2 separate regions of the Homo sapiens genome follow, and region 2 is linked to region 1. The links are contacts of gene promoters, found by promoter capture Hi-C in blood cells and fetal thymus (Javierre and others, 2016). All regions are on one chromosome and are shown on one strand. Each heading gives the region's core, a stretch centred on a gene start or on the middle of the fragment in contact. The rest is flanking DNA. Distances are from core to core; before and after follow the strand shown.

Region 1 (5,139 bases), core at 413-2,912:
ATGCAGACATCATACAAGGTCTTTTGCTTTCACTGTATTTTCCCACTCCATCATGCTTTCTTTTTGCATGTTTTTTAAATTCTGAAATATAGCATACCTACAAAAATAGTGTGGGAAAATATCTATGTGCAGTTTTTTTTTTTTTTTTTTTTGAGACAGAGTCTCGCTCTTTCACCCAGGCTGGAGTGCAGTGGTGCAGTCTTGGCTCACTGCAACCTCTGCCTCCCAAGTTCAAGCAATTCTCCTGCCTCAGCCTCCCGAGTAGCTGGGATTATAGGCGCTCACCACCATGCCCGGCTAATTTTTGTATTTTTAGTAGAAACGGGGTTTCACCATATAGATCAAGCTGGCCTCGATCTCCCAACCTCGTGATCCACCCGCCTCGGCCTCCCAAAGTACTGGGATTACAGGTGTGAGCCACTGTGCCCGGCCCCGAAAATATCTATGTACAGTTTAAAGAACAACCATGTACCACGTACCCACCACCAGCCCAATGAACAGAATTAAACATAGCCCAGAAGCTCCCTATGTAGCCCTCCCTAGACATAGCCCCTATGCTGAGTCTTCTATTCATTTTCTTGTCTTTTAAAAAAGTTTTTATTGGCTGGGTGTGGTGGCTTATGCCTGTAATCCCAGCACTTTGGGAGGCCGAGGCCAGCAGATCACTTGAGGTCAGGAGTTTGAGACCAGCCTGGCCAACGTGGTGAAATCCCGTCTGTACTAAAAACGCAAAAATAAGCCGGGTGTGGTGGCGCACACCTGTAATCCCAGCTATTCAGGAGGCTGAAGCAGGAGAATCACTTGAACCTGGGAGGTGGAGTTTTTAATAGATATTGGCAAACTGCCCTTCATGGCTATATAAGATATATATATATATTTATTTACAGAGATATAGGAATTTTAGAATAGACCAGTCCTATGTAACCCACTCTGTTCCACAGATGGATGAGTCAACCGACGCGGAGAGTGACTCCACACAAAGCTGGTGGGAAACACCATTAGAATCCATGCAGGTGTCTGGACTTCCAGTCCTAAATCTCTCTTTTTGTGTGTGTCTGTGTGTGTGGGGGGGGTGTTTGTTTGTTTGTTATTGTTGTTTGTTTTAGAGACAGGTTCTTGCTCTGTCGCCCAGACTAGAGTGCAGTGGCGCGGACGCAGCTCACTGCAGCCTCGACCTCCTGAGTCCTAGAGTTCTTGAAGTTCCTGTTAACATTTCATTATATTGATGCTGCCTGCAGTTTGCTAACTTAATGGTAGTAGTTTAATTTCTAATTTCTCATGCTTTCTGTTTTTTCCCTTGGGCTATTTTGCCATCCTGGATCGATCATGTGCGCTGTCAAGTGACCTTTGGGACAATCCTGCCGATCATGAGGTTTGCCGAGTGACCAATCTTCCCTCGTCTACAATTTGCTGGACTTGGAAAAGTGACTGGAAGGGAGCAGAGTTCCGTCAGCCACTGCCAAGAAACCATTTAAATTACTAAGAGAGCGAAGGAAAGCACGTGACGTTCTGCAATCCCGTTGCAAGCGGTTTTGCAAGCCGGAGGTTGTTGCACCTTTTAGAGTCTAGGAAGCCCGCCTCTCGGTGGCGGAGTCGTCATTGGATGTTGCGGCTGTCAATCGCCAGGGCTATAAATAAGGGAGTCCGGCGGCTCCTCTATCAGGAAGATTGTGCATGCCGTGGGTCTGACGGCTTGAGTAGCGCTAGGGAGAATCCCTGCAGGTAATATTTGACTTTTGCTTCATATTAATCTGAGTGGAAAATAAAAGGGCCCTCTTCTCCTCTCGCTTCCCTGCCGGGCAGGCGCCATGGCGGAAGCCTCGGCGACGGGCGCCTGCGGAGAGGCGATGGCAGCGGCGGAAGGCTCCTCGGGCCCGGCGGGCTTGACTCTGGGCCGGAGCTTCTCGAACTACCGGCCCTTCGAGCCCCAGGCGTTGGGCCTCAGCCCGAGCTGGCGGCTGACGGGCTTCTCCGGCATGAAGGGCTGAGGCTGCAAGGTCCCGCAGGAGGCGCTGCTCAAACTCCTGGCGGGACTGACGCGGCCGGACGTGCGGCCCCCGCTGGGCCGGGGCCTGGTGGGTGGCCAGGAAGAGGCGTCCCAGGAAGCCGGCCTGCCGGCAGGAGCGGGCCCCAGCCCCACCTTTCCAGCCCTGGGCATCGGGATGGACTCCTGCGTCATCCCCCTGAGGCACGGGGGCCTGTCACTGGTGCAGACCACGGACTTCTTTTACCCCTTGGTAGAAGATCCCTACATGATGGGGCGCATAGCTTGTGCCAACGTGCTGAGTGACCTCTACGCCATGGGGATTACTGAGTGTGACAACATGTTGATGTTACTCAGCGTCAGCCAGAGTATGAGTGAGGAGGAACGCGAAAAGGTAACGCCACTCATGGTCAAAGGCTTTCGGGATGCGGCTGAGGAAGGAGGGACGGCAGTGACCGGTGGGCAAACGGTGGTCAACCCTTGGATTATAATCGGTGGAGTTGCCACTGTAGTATGCCAACCAAATGAGTTCATAATGCCGGACAGCGCCGTCGTTGGGGACGTGCTGGTGTTAACCAAACCGTTAGGAACCCAGGTTGCTGTCAATGCCCACCAATGGCTGGATAATCCTGAAAGATGGAATAAAGTAAAGATGGTGGTCTCCAGAGAAGAGGTGGAGCTGGCCTATCAGGAAGCCATGTTCAATATGGCTACCCTCAACAGAACTGCTGCAGGTTTAATGCACACATTTAATGCCCATGCGGCCACAGATATCACAGGCTTTGGCATTCTAGGACACTCCCAGAACCTTGCAAAACAACAAAGAAATGAAGTGTCCTTTGTTATTCATAATCTGCCAATAATTGCCAAGATGGCTGCCGTCAGCAAGGCCAGTGGACGGTTTGGGCTTCTTCAAGGAACCTCAGCTGAAACCTCTGGGGGATTACTGATTTGTCTGCCAAGAGAACAGGCGGCTCGCTTTTGTTCTGAAATCAAATCCTCCAAGTACGGAGAGGGTCACCAAGCGTGGATCGTTGGCATTGTGGAAAAGGGAAACCGAACGGCCCGGATCATTGACAAGCCGCGAGTTATTGAAGTCCTGCCTCGTGGGGCCACAGCTGCTGTTCTTGCTCCTGACAGTTCAAATGCCTCCTCTGAGCCTAGCTCGTGAGATGAAAGAACAGAAGTTGTTTGGACCTTAGAGCCATTGTCCACAATCACGGATGGTTCTCAAGAGTTGATTGTAAGAAATTTCCAAAGAAGGCTGCCTGCATAGTGGTTCCGGCTGCCCTTTCTAGGTGATTGGAATCAGCCCATCTAAAGCAGTCTTTATATGCATTCCGAGGCCAGAGTAACATTTTGAACTTTGGGGGGATATTTGTTCATCACTTGGGTAGAAGAGGAGCAAAAATACCTCTGTTTTCTCTTGCCAAAGTAAGATGAAGCTATTCCAGGTTGAGGGATTTTTCTTTGCACGGGGTTGATTAATTTCTGCACAGGGAGTGAGATTATTAAAGTAACACACACACAAAGTAAATTGCAAAATGAAAAAAATTAGAAGCAAATGAGTTTTGGACCAATATTGTTGATAAATCTAAATTGTTAAGAGAGATCTTATAATGCAACATCAAATTCTTTATTCAATTTTACTGAAGTACTGGCTCTTTCCTGCTCTGGACAAGAATTGAGCAACTTGTCTGATGACTGGGAAAGGAGGACCTGCAACCATCTGACTTGGTCTCTGTTAATGACGTCTCTCCCTCTAAACCCCATTAAGGACTGGGAGAGGCAGAGCAAGCCTCAGAGCCCAGGCCTCAGTGGTCATTAAGATGTTAAGTCTTTTGCGGCAGATTCCTGGTGATTTGATCAATAAAGAGTAATTTCTTGCTAAATAAATAAAAGAAACCTTGTTGAAAAACTATTCTGGCTAATGTTTGGTGGTTTGAAATTCAATACAGTCTTATAAAACGAACCAGCTTATACACTGAGTCTGGTATAGCAGAGAGAGAGTGTTTTCCCTGATGCTGGTGAATTGGGTAATTTAACACCCAGATTTAGGGTTGCACCTTCCCCCTGAAATGACAGAAAAGGACTCGAAGCAGGCATACGCCCCAAGGGTTAGAGAGTGGGCAGGAAATAGCAAAAGAAAGGTGTCAACAATTCTTGAAAGATGGAAAGGAGGTGGAAGAGGGGTAACTGACTTAAAGGAATCCTTCATAGTAGGGGAAGACAAGAAGCAAGAAGATGTGCTTGGAAGATGGGGTAAGACCTGGGGATAAAACATACTGTTTGAGAGTTTATACACGGTAATTCGATCTTTAGCGTTCTCCACACTCTTATTTCACACAGCCAGGTGACTGCCTCTCACCTACGCAGGTAGAGTTGGGAGCACCACACACAGCAGAGGATAGGGAGCCTAACTGAAAAAATAAAAATTTAAAATGAGACTGCCCAGCCCCCTTCCTCAATTAGATATTCAAAATACTGGCCAGGCCAGCACGGTGGCTCACGCCTGTAATCCCAGCACTTTGGGAGGCCGAGGCGGGCAGATCATGAGGTCAGGAGGTTGAGACCATCCTGGCTAACAAGATGAAACCCCATCTCTACTAAAAATACAAAAAATTAGCTGGGCGTGGTGGCGGGCGCCTGTAGTCCCAGCTACTGGGAAGGCTGAGGTGGGAGAATGGCGTGAACCTGGGAGGCAGAGCTTGCAGTGAGCCGAGATTGCACCACTGCACTCCAGTCCGGGCAGCAGAGCGAGACTCCATCTCAAAACAAACAAACAAAAAACTGGCCAGGCCAGGCCCAGTGGCTCACGCCTATAATCCCAGCACTTTGGGAGGCCGAGGTGGGCAGATCTCTTAAGCTCAGGAGTTTGAGTTCAGCCTGGCCAATATGGCAAAACTCCGTCTCTACTAAAACAAAAAAAAATACAAAAATACCCAGGTGTGATGGCGTGCCCCTGTAGTCCCAGCTACTCGGGAGGCTGAGGTGGGAGAACCTTGAACCCGCAAGGCAGAGGTTGCAGTGTGCAAACACTGCAGTCCAGCCTGGGCGACGGGAGTGAAACCCTGTCTCAAAAAAAATAAATAAAAGCCCAAAATCACTCTACCACAAGGCCTCCTAGGTGAAAGCCTTTATTGAATGATGTTAAG
Region 2 (5,006 bases), core at 45-2,544, 73 kb before region 1:
CCCCATCTCCTCCTATCCGGACTGCATCACCCGCCTGGAGTCTCCAGCTGCAGACCCTCTCCCTTTAACACGTCACCTATTGCAGTCGCTGCCATGAGTTGGCCAACACACACCTTAGGCAGCCCTAGGCCTTCAATGGCTTCCCCGGAATCGCACGCAGCTCAGCATTCAAAGCCGTCCAGAATCCAGCTTTTGCTTACCTGTTAGATGCAGCTTCCCTCCTCCCCTCTGCCTGTTAGCCACACTGAACTTCCTGCTCTTCAAACCTGCCCTGCCAACACTCACCACAGAGGCCCCTGGCCTTGCCACTGCCTCTGCTTAGAGCGCTCTTTCTTCACTGTCTGACTTGGCTTGGTAACTCCTTTGCTAAGCTGCCATCAGATTGATTTTTTTTTTTTTTGAGATAAGGTCTCACTGTGTTGCCCAGGCTGGAGTGTAGTGGCATAATCATAGCTCACTGCAGCCTTGAACTCCTGTGCTCAAACGATCCTCCCATCTCAGCCTCCCGAGGCACTGAGTACAGGCGTGAACCACCACGCCTGCCTCTGACAGATCCTTTTGAGATGAAGTCTCACTCTGTCGCCCAGGTTGGAGTGCAATGGTGGGATCTCAGCTCACTGCCACCTCTGCCTCCCAGGTTCAAGTGATTCTCTCACCTCAGCCTCCCGAACAGCTGGGATTACAGGCGCCCACCATCATGCCCGGCTAATTTTTGTATTTTTGTAGAGATGGGGTTTCACCATGTTGGCCAGGCTGGTCTTGAACTCCTCACTTCATGTGATCTGCCTACCTTGACCTCCCAAAGTGCTAGGATTACAGGTGTGAGCTACTGCGCCCGGCCTCGATTGAACTTTACTCGACACATAAGTCTACTACATCTCAGGCAACTCTGGGGTTGTGTGCCCACCAAGGGGAGAAGAAGCTTCTCCCAGGCTGATGGCTCTGGCAGTGGGAAGTTCTGACTCGCACAGAGCCCAGGAGCTCTCCCACATCTAGGTCTGCCCTGGGGCTCCTGGGCTCCCTCTGTTGCCTGTTCCTGGGGCTTCCAAGGAGGTGGAGATACCTGGGCCAGGGAGGCGTTGCTGCCATAGAGGTGGAAATGCTTGCTGCTGTTGAAGGAGATGGAGAGGGAGCTGCAGAGGCTGAACATGGAAGAGGCCTGTGGGAGCGGGGAAAGGCGTCAGAACCCGGGAGAACGAGGACAGAACCCACTGGCTTTTGCCCCCACCACAACACAGTGGGGAGGGGCAGAGAAGGGGTTCCAGGGGGGTGCACCCATCTCTACACAACTCTCTATTGTGGCATTCTTTTCTTTCTATTTTTTTTTTTTTTTTGAGATGGAGTCTTGCTCTGTCACCCAGGCTGGAGTGCAGTGGTGCCATCTTGGCTCACTGCAACCTCTGCCTCCCGGGTTTAAGGGATTCTCATGCCTCAGCCTCTCAAGTAGCTGGGATTACAGGCATGTGCCACCACGCCCGGCTAAAGTTTTGTATTTTTAGTACAGACAGGGTTTCACCATGTTGGCCAGGCTGGTCTAGAACTCCCGACCTCAAGTGATCCACCCACCTAAGCCTCCCGAAGTGCTAGGATTATAGGCTTGAGCCCCGCCCCAGCCTCTACTGTGGCACCCTAATATGTCGCTCCCCATTGTTGTAAGGAAAGCTTTTCTATAAAGAACACACAGGAACTATCCATAGGCCCATGGAAACAGCATTGCAAATATCACAGAAATCATTGTTCTCTTTCACCTGTGACTGTGTAAATGGGATTTTTCATCAAGATGGAAAACAAAAATGGAGGCAGACTATCTGGTGGGAGCCCACCCACAACGGCCCCAGGCATTGGGGCCCCCACAGCAGCTCCACATCTCTTAGGAGCGGGGACTACCTCGATCTCTCCCACCAGCTCCAGAGTCCCGATCACTTGGACGAGGATCTCCTGCCTGAAGACAACAGGGCAGCGGAACAGGGCTCCGGGGAGACAAGGCTGACAAGGATGAGGAAAGCGGGGTCAGGGCGGCTTCATTCCGACCCGTGTACCGCCCAGCCCCACCGTCTCTCAGCTCACACGCCCATACCTCAGCTGCATCCGGGAGCCTCTCCAGATCCTCATAGTGGCAGGGCACGGGAGGCTCCTAGGAACAAGCGGCAGGTCTTCAGTTAGAGCCTCCCCAACCCAGATAAGACACTGGCATCCCAGCTTTCCCCTGCCCTGGCCCTGGCCCTGGGTGAGTTCAGACATCTCTGAGTCCAGCAGGACCTGAATTCATCCATCCTTACTCTCCATACACCCAGCCTTGCCCCCTTGATTTTTTTTTCTTTGTTAGAGACAGGGTCTTGTTCTGTCACCGAGGCTGGAGTGCAGTGGTGCCATCATAGCTCACTGCAGCCTCAAACTCCTAGGTTCAAGTGATCCTCCCGCCTCTGCCTCCTGAGTAGCTGAGACCACGGGCACGGGCCACCATGCATGCCTGGATAATTTTAAAATTTGTTTGTAGAGACTGGAGTTGTGCTATGTTGCCCATGCTGGTCTCAAAATCCTGGCCTCAATGGATTCTCCCACTTCAGCCTCCCAAAGTGCTGGGATTTGGGAGGCAGAGCCACCGCACCTGGCCAAGCCCTGCCCTCTGTACCCTCAAATGCACTCACCCCCAAGACCTGAGGAGGGTAGACCCTCCCTCTACAGGCAGCACTCACCATCTGCACGCTCCACTGGTGTGTGATGGGCCCCTCGCTGGGAGGCTGTGGCACCCCAACCACAGCCTCCAGGGTGGGTATGTTGTGGTCGTGGATGGAAGGCTGGATCCTCACCTGGCACAGAGGACAAGGGATGCAGAGCCCTGAATGCCAGCCACCCCAGCTGCCCCCCAGACCCTGTGTGCCCTTGCACGCCTCTTCCAGTCCTCATTGGCTGAGTCCCCAGGGCCCTTGTCGGTTAGGCAGTGTCCAGTGACTGGGCATGGCCAGCTTCCGTCCTCAGGGCCTTGCAGTGTGGCTTCCATGCTCTTCCAGCTTTCTCCGCCCAGCACACTCTCACACACCCTGCAAGGGCCTGCTCTAATATTATCTCTGAAGGCTTCGCTGACTCCCCAAGGACAGGGCAGCTCCCCCTCCTGGGCTCCCACAGTGTGCTCTGCGTCCCCAGCAGGACGGCAAAGGATCTGCTTGGATGTCTGCATCTCCACTAGACCATGAACTCCCTGAGGACAGGAGCCATTCTTACTCCACCTCCAATCCCCTACTGCTTGACACAGTGCCTAGTGTGGTGGCTCACACCTGTAATCCCAGCACTTTGGGAGGCTGAGGTGGGCAGATCACTTGAGGTCAGGAGTTTGAGACCAGCCTGACCAAGATGGTGAAACCCCGTCTCTACTAAAAATACAAAAATTAGCCAGGTGTGGTGGCACAATCCTACAGTGCTGGGTACTCTGGAGGCTGAGGCAGGAGAATTACTTAAACCCAGGAGGTGAAGGTTGCAGTGAGCCGAGATCATGCCACTGCACTCCAACCTGGGCGACAGAGTGAGACTCCGTCTCAAAAAAAAAAAAAAATTTCTGAGCACCTTTTATTAAAAAAAGAACTACCTGTGTTAAGGCTGGGAGACTCAGATATGTGTAAGAAAGTGACACAGAAGTGGCACTAACAATGTCTCAGGAAGCAGGGAAATGTATCAAATTAGAAGGATTCTATCATTTATTCATTCAACGAACATTTGTGGACACTTGAAATACCAGTTAAATTAAAAAGGCCAAATGTCAGGGGCAGTATTTGAATTTGACTGTGAAAGATGGACAGGATTTTTTTTTTTTTTTTAGACAGAATATCACTCTGTCACCCAGGCTGGAGTGCGATGGCACGATCACAGCTCGCTGCAACCTTCACCTTCCAGGTTCAAGCGATTCTCCTGCCTCAGCCTCCCCAGTAGCTGGGACTACAGGCACACACCACCACACCTAGCTAATTTTTGTATTTTTAGTAGAGATGGGGTTTCATCATGTTGGCCAGGCTGGTCTTGAACTCCTGACCTCAGGTGATCTGCCCACCTGGGCCTCCCAAAGTGCTGGGGTTACAGGTGTGAGCCACCGCGCCTGACCAGATGGACAGGATTTTAACAGATGAAGGTGGGAGAGGGCATCCAAGAAGAGACATGTGGGGAGCCAGGATGGCACCAGGTGAGAGGGATGTGGCTGGAAGGAGGGTGCCTGGGAAGGAGAACAGGAGCTGAGGCTGGAAAGGAAGCCCAAGATCACACTATGGGGCCTGGAAGGCTTGAGAGTGAGGAGTTGGAGCAGCATCAAGGAGGCAGTGGGAAGTCACAGAAGGTGGCAGAGGAAGAGAGTGGCTCCAGGGAGGTCCATCCCCTGCAGGCATGAGCTGGAAAGAGGCTGGGAGAGGCGGGTCATGGCCCATGTTGGGAGCCTCTCTCAATAGTCCAGTTGCAAGAAGGTGAGGAATTGGGTCTGGGCGGTAGCAGAAAAAGGACACAGACAACCAGACTCCAGCAGGCAGTGGGACAAAGCAGGAGGAAGGAGAAATTCACCCAGACACGTTAAGTTTTCCTTGAGAAAGAGATGGTGCTTTCAAAAGATTCCACGCAAGCCAGAGGAGATGCTGGCTTAGGGGAAGACAGCAAATTTGGTTTAGAATATGTTGAGACCAGGCCAGGCACAGTGGCTCACGCCTGTAATCTCAGCACTTTGGGAGGCCGAGGTGGGCGGATCACCTGAGGTCAGGAGTTTGAGACCAGCCTGGCCAACATGATGAAACCCTCTCTCTACTAAAAATACAAACATTAGCCTGGCGTGGTGGTGGGCGCCTGTAATCTCAGCTACTCAGAAGGCTGAAGCAGGAGAATTGCTTGAATCCAGGAGGCGGAGGTTGCAGTGAGCTGAGATTACGCCACTGCACTCCAACCTGGGTGACAGAGCAAGACTCTACCTCAAAAAAAAAAAAAAAAAGAAAAGAAAAAAGAAAAGGTAAAAATAAAGCACCAGGCACAGAACCTGG

Evidence for each region. Contacts are between HindIII fragments. The CHiCAGO score rates a contact against its expected background, and 5 or more counts as called.
Region 2: a fragment that was not itself captured here is called in contact with the fragment with the promoter of SEPHS2 in region 1 in 11 of 17 cell types (erythroblasts, megakaryocytes, non-activated CD4 T cells and 8 more); the score reaches 11.0 in erythroblasts.

The regions. Positions count from the first base shown.
Region 1 is chr16:30,442,397-30,447,535 of GRCh38, reverse strand. SEPHS2 (selenophosphate synthetase 2) reads left to right here and starts at 1,662. Exons shown (of 1, transcript NM_012248.4): 1 at 1,662-3,905. The coding sequence starts at 1,809. The coding sequence ends at 3,155. RefSeq lists a silencer at 2,078-2,197 and enhancers at 1,524-2,470, 4,914-5,139. The HindIII fragment of the contact is 8,484 bases long and covers 1-5,139 here.
Region 2 is chr16:30,514,777-30,519,782 of GRCh38, reverse strand. ITGAL (integrin subunit alpha L) reads right to left here. Exons shown (of 31, transcript NM_002209.3): 26 at 2,697-2,810; 27 at 2,078-2,134; 28 at 1,888-1,986; 29 at 1,064-1,159. Among named protein-coding and RNA genes, the nearest start is that of ZNF768, 9.3 kb to the left of the region's middle. The HindIII fragment of the contact is 740 bases long and covers 925-1,664 here.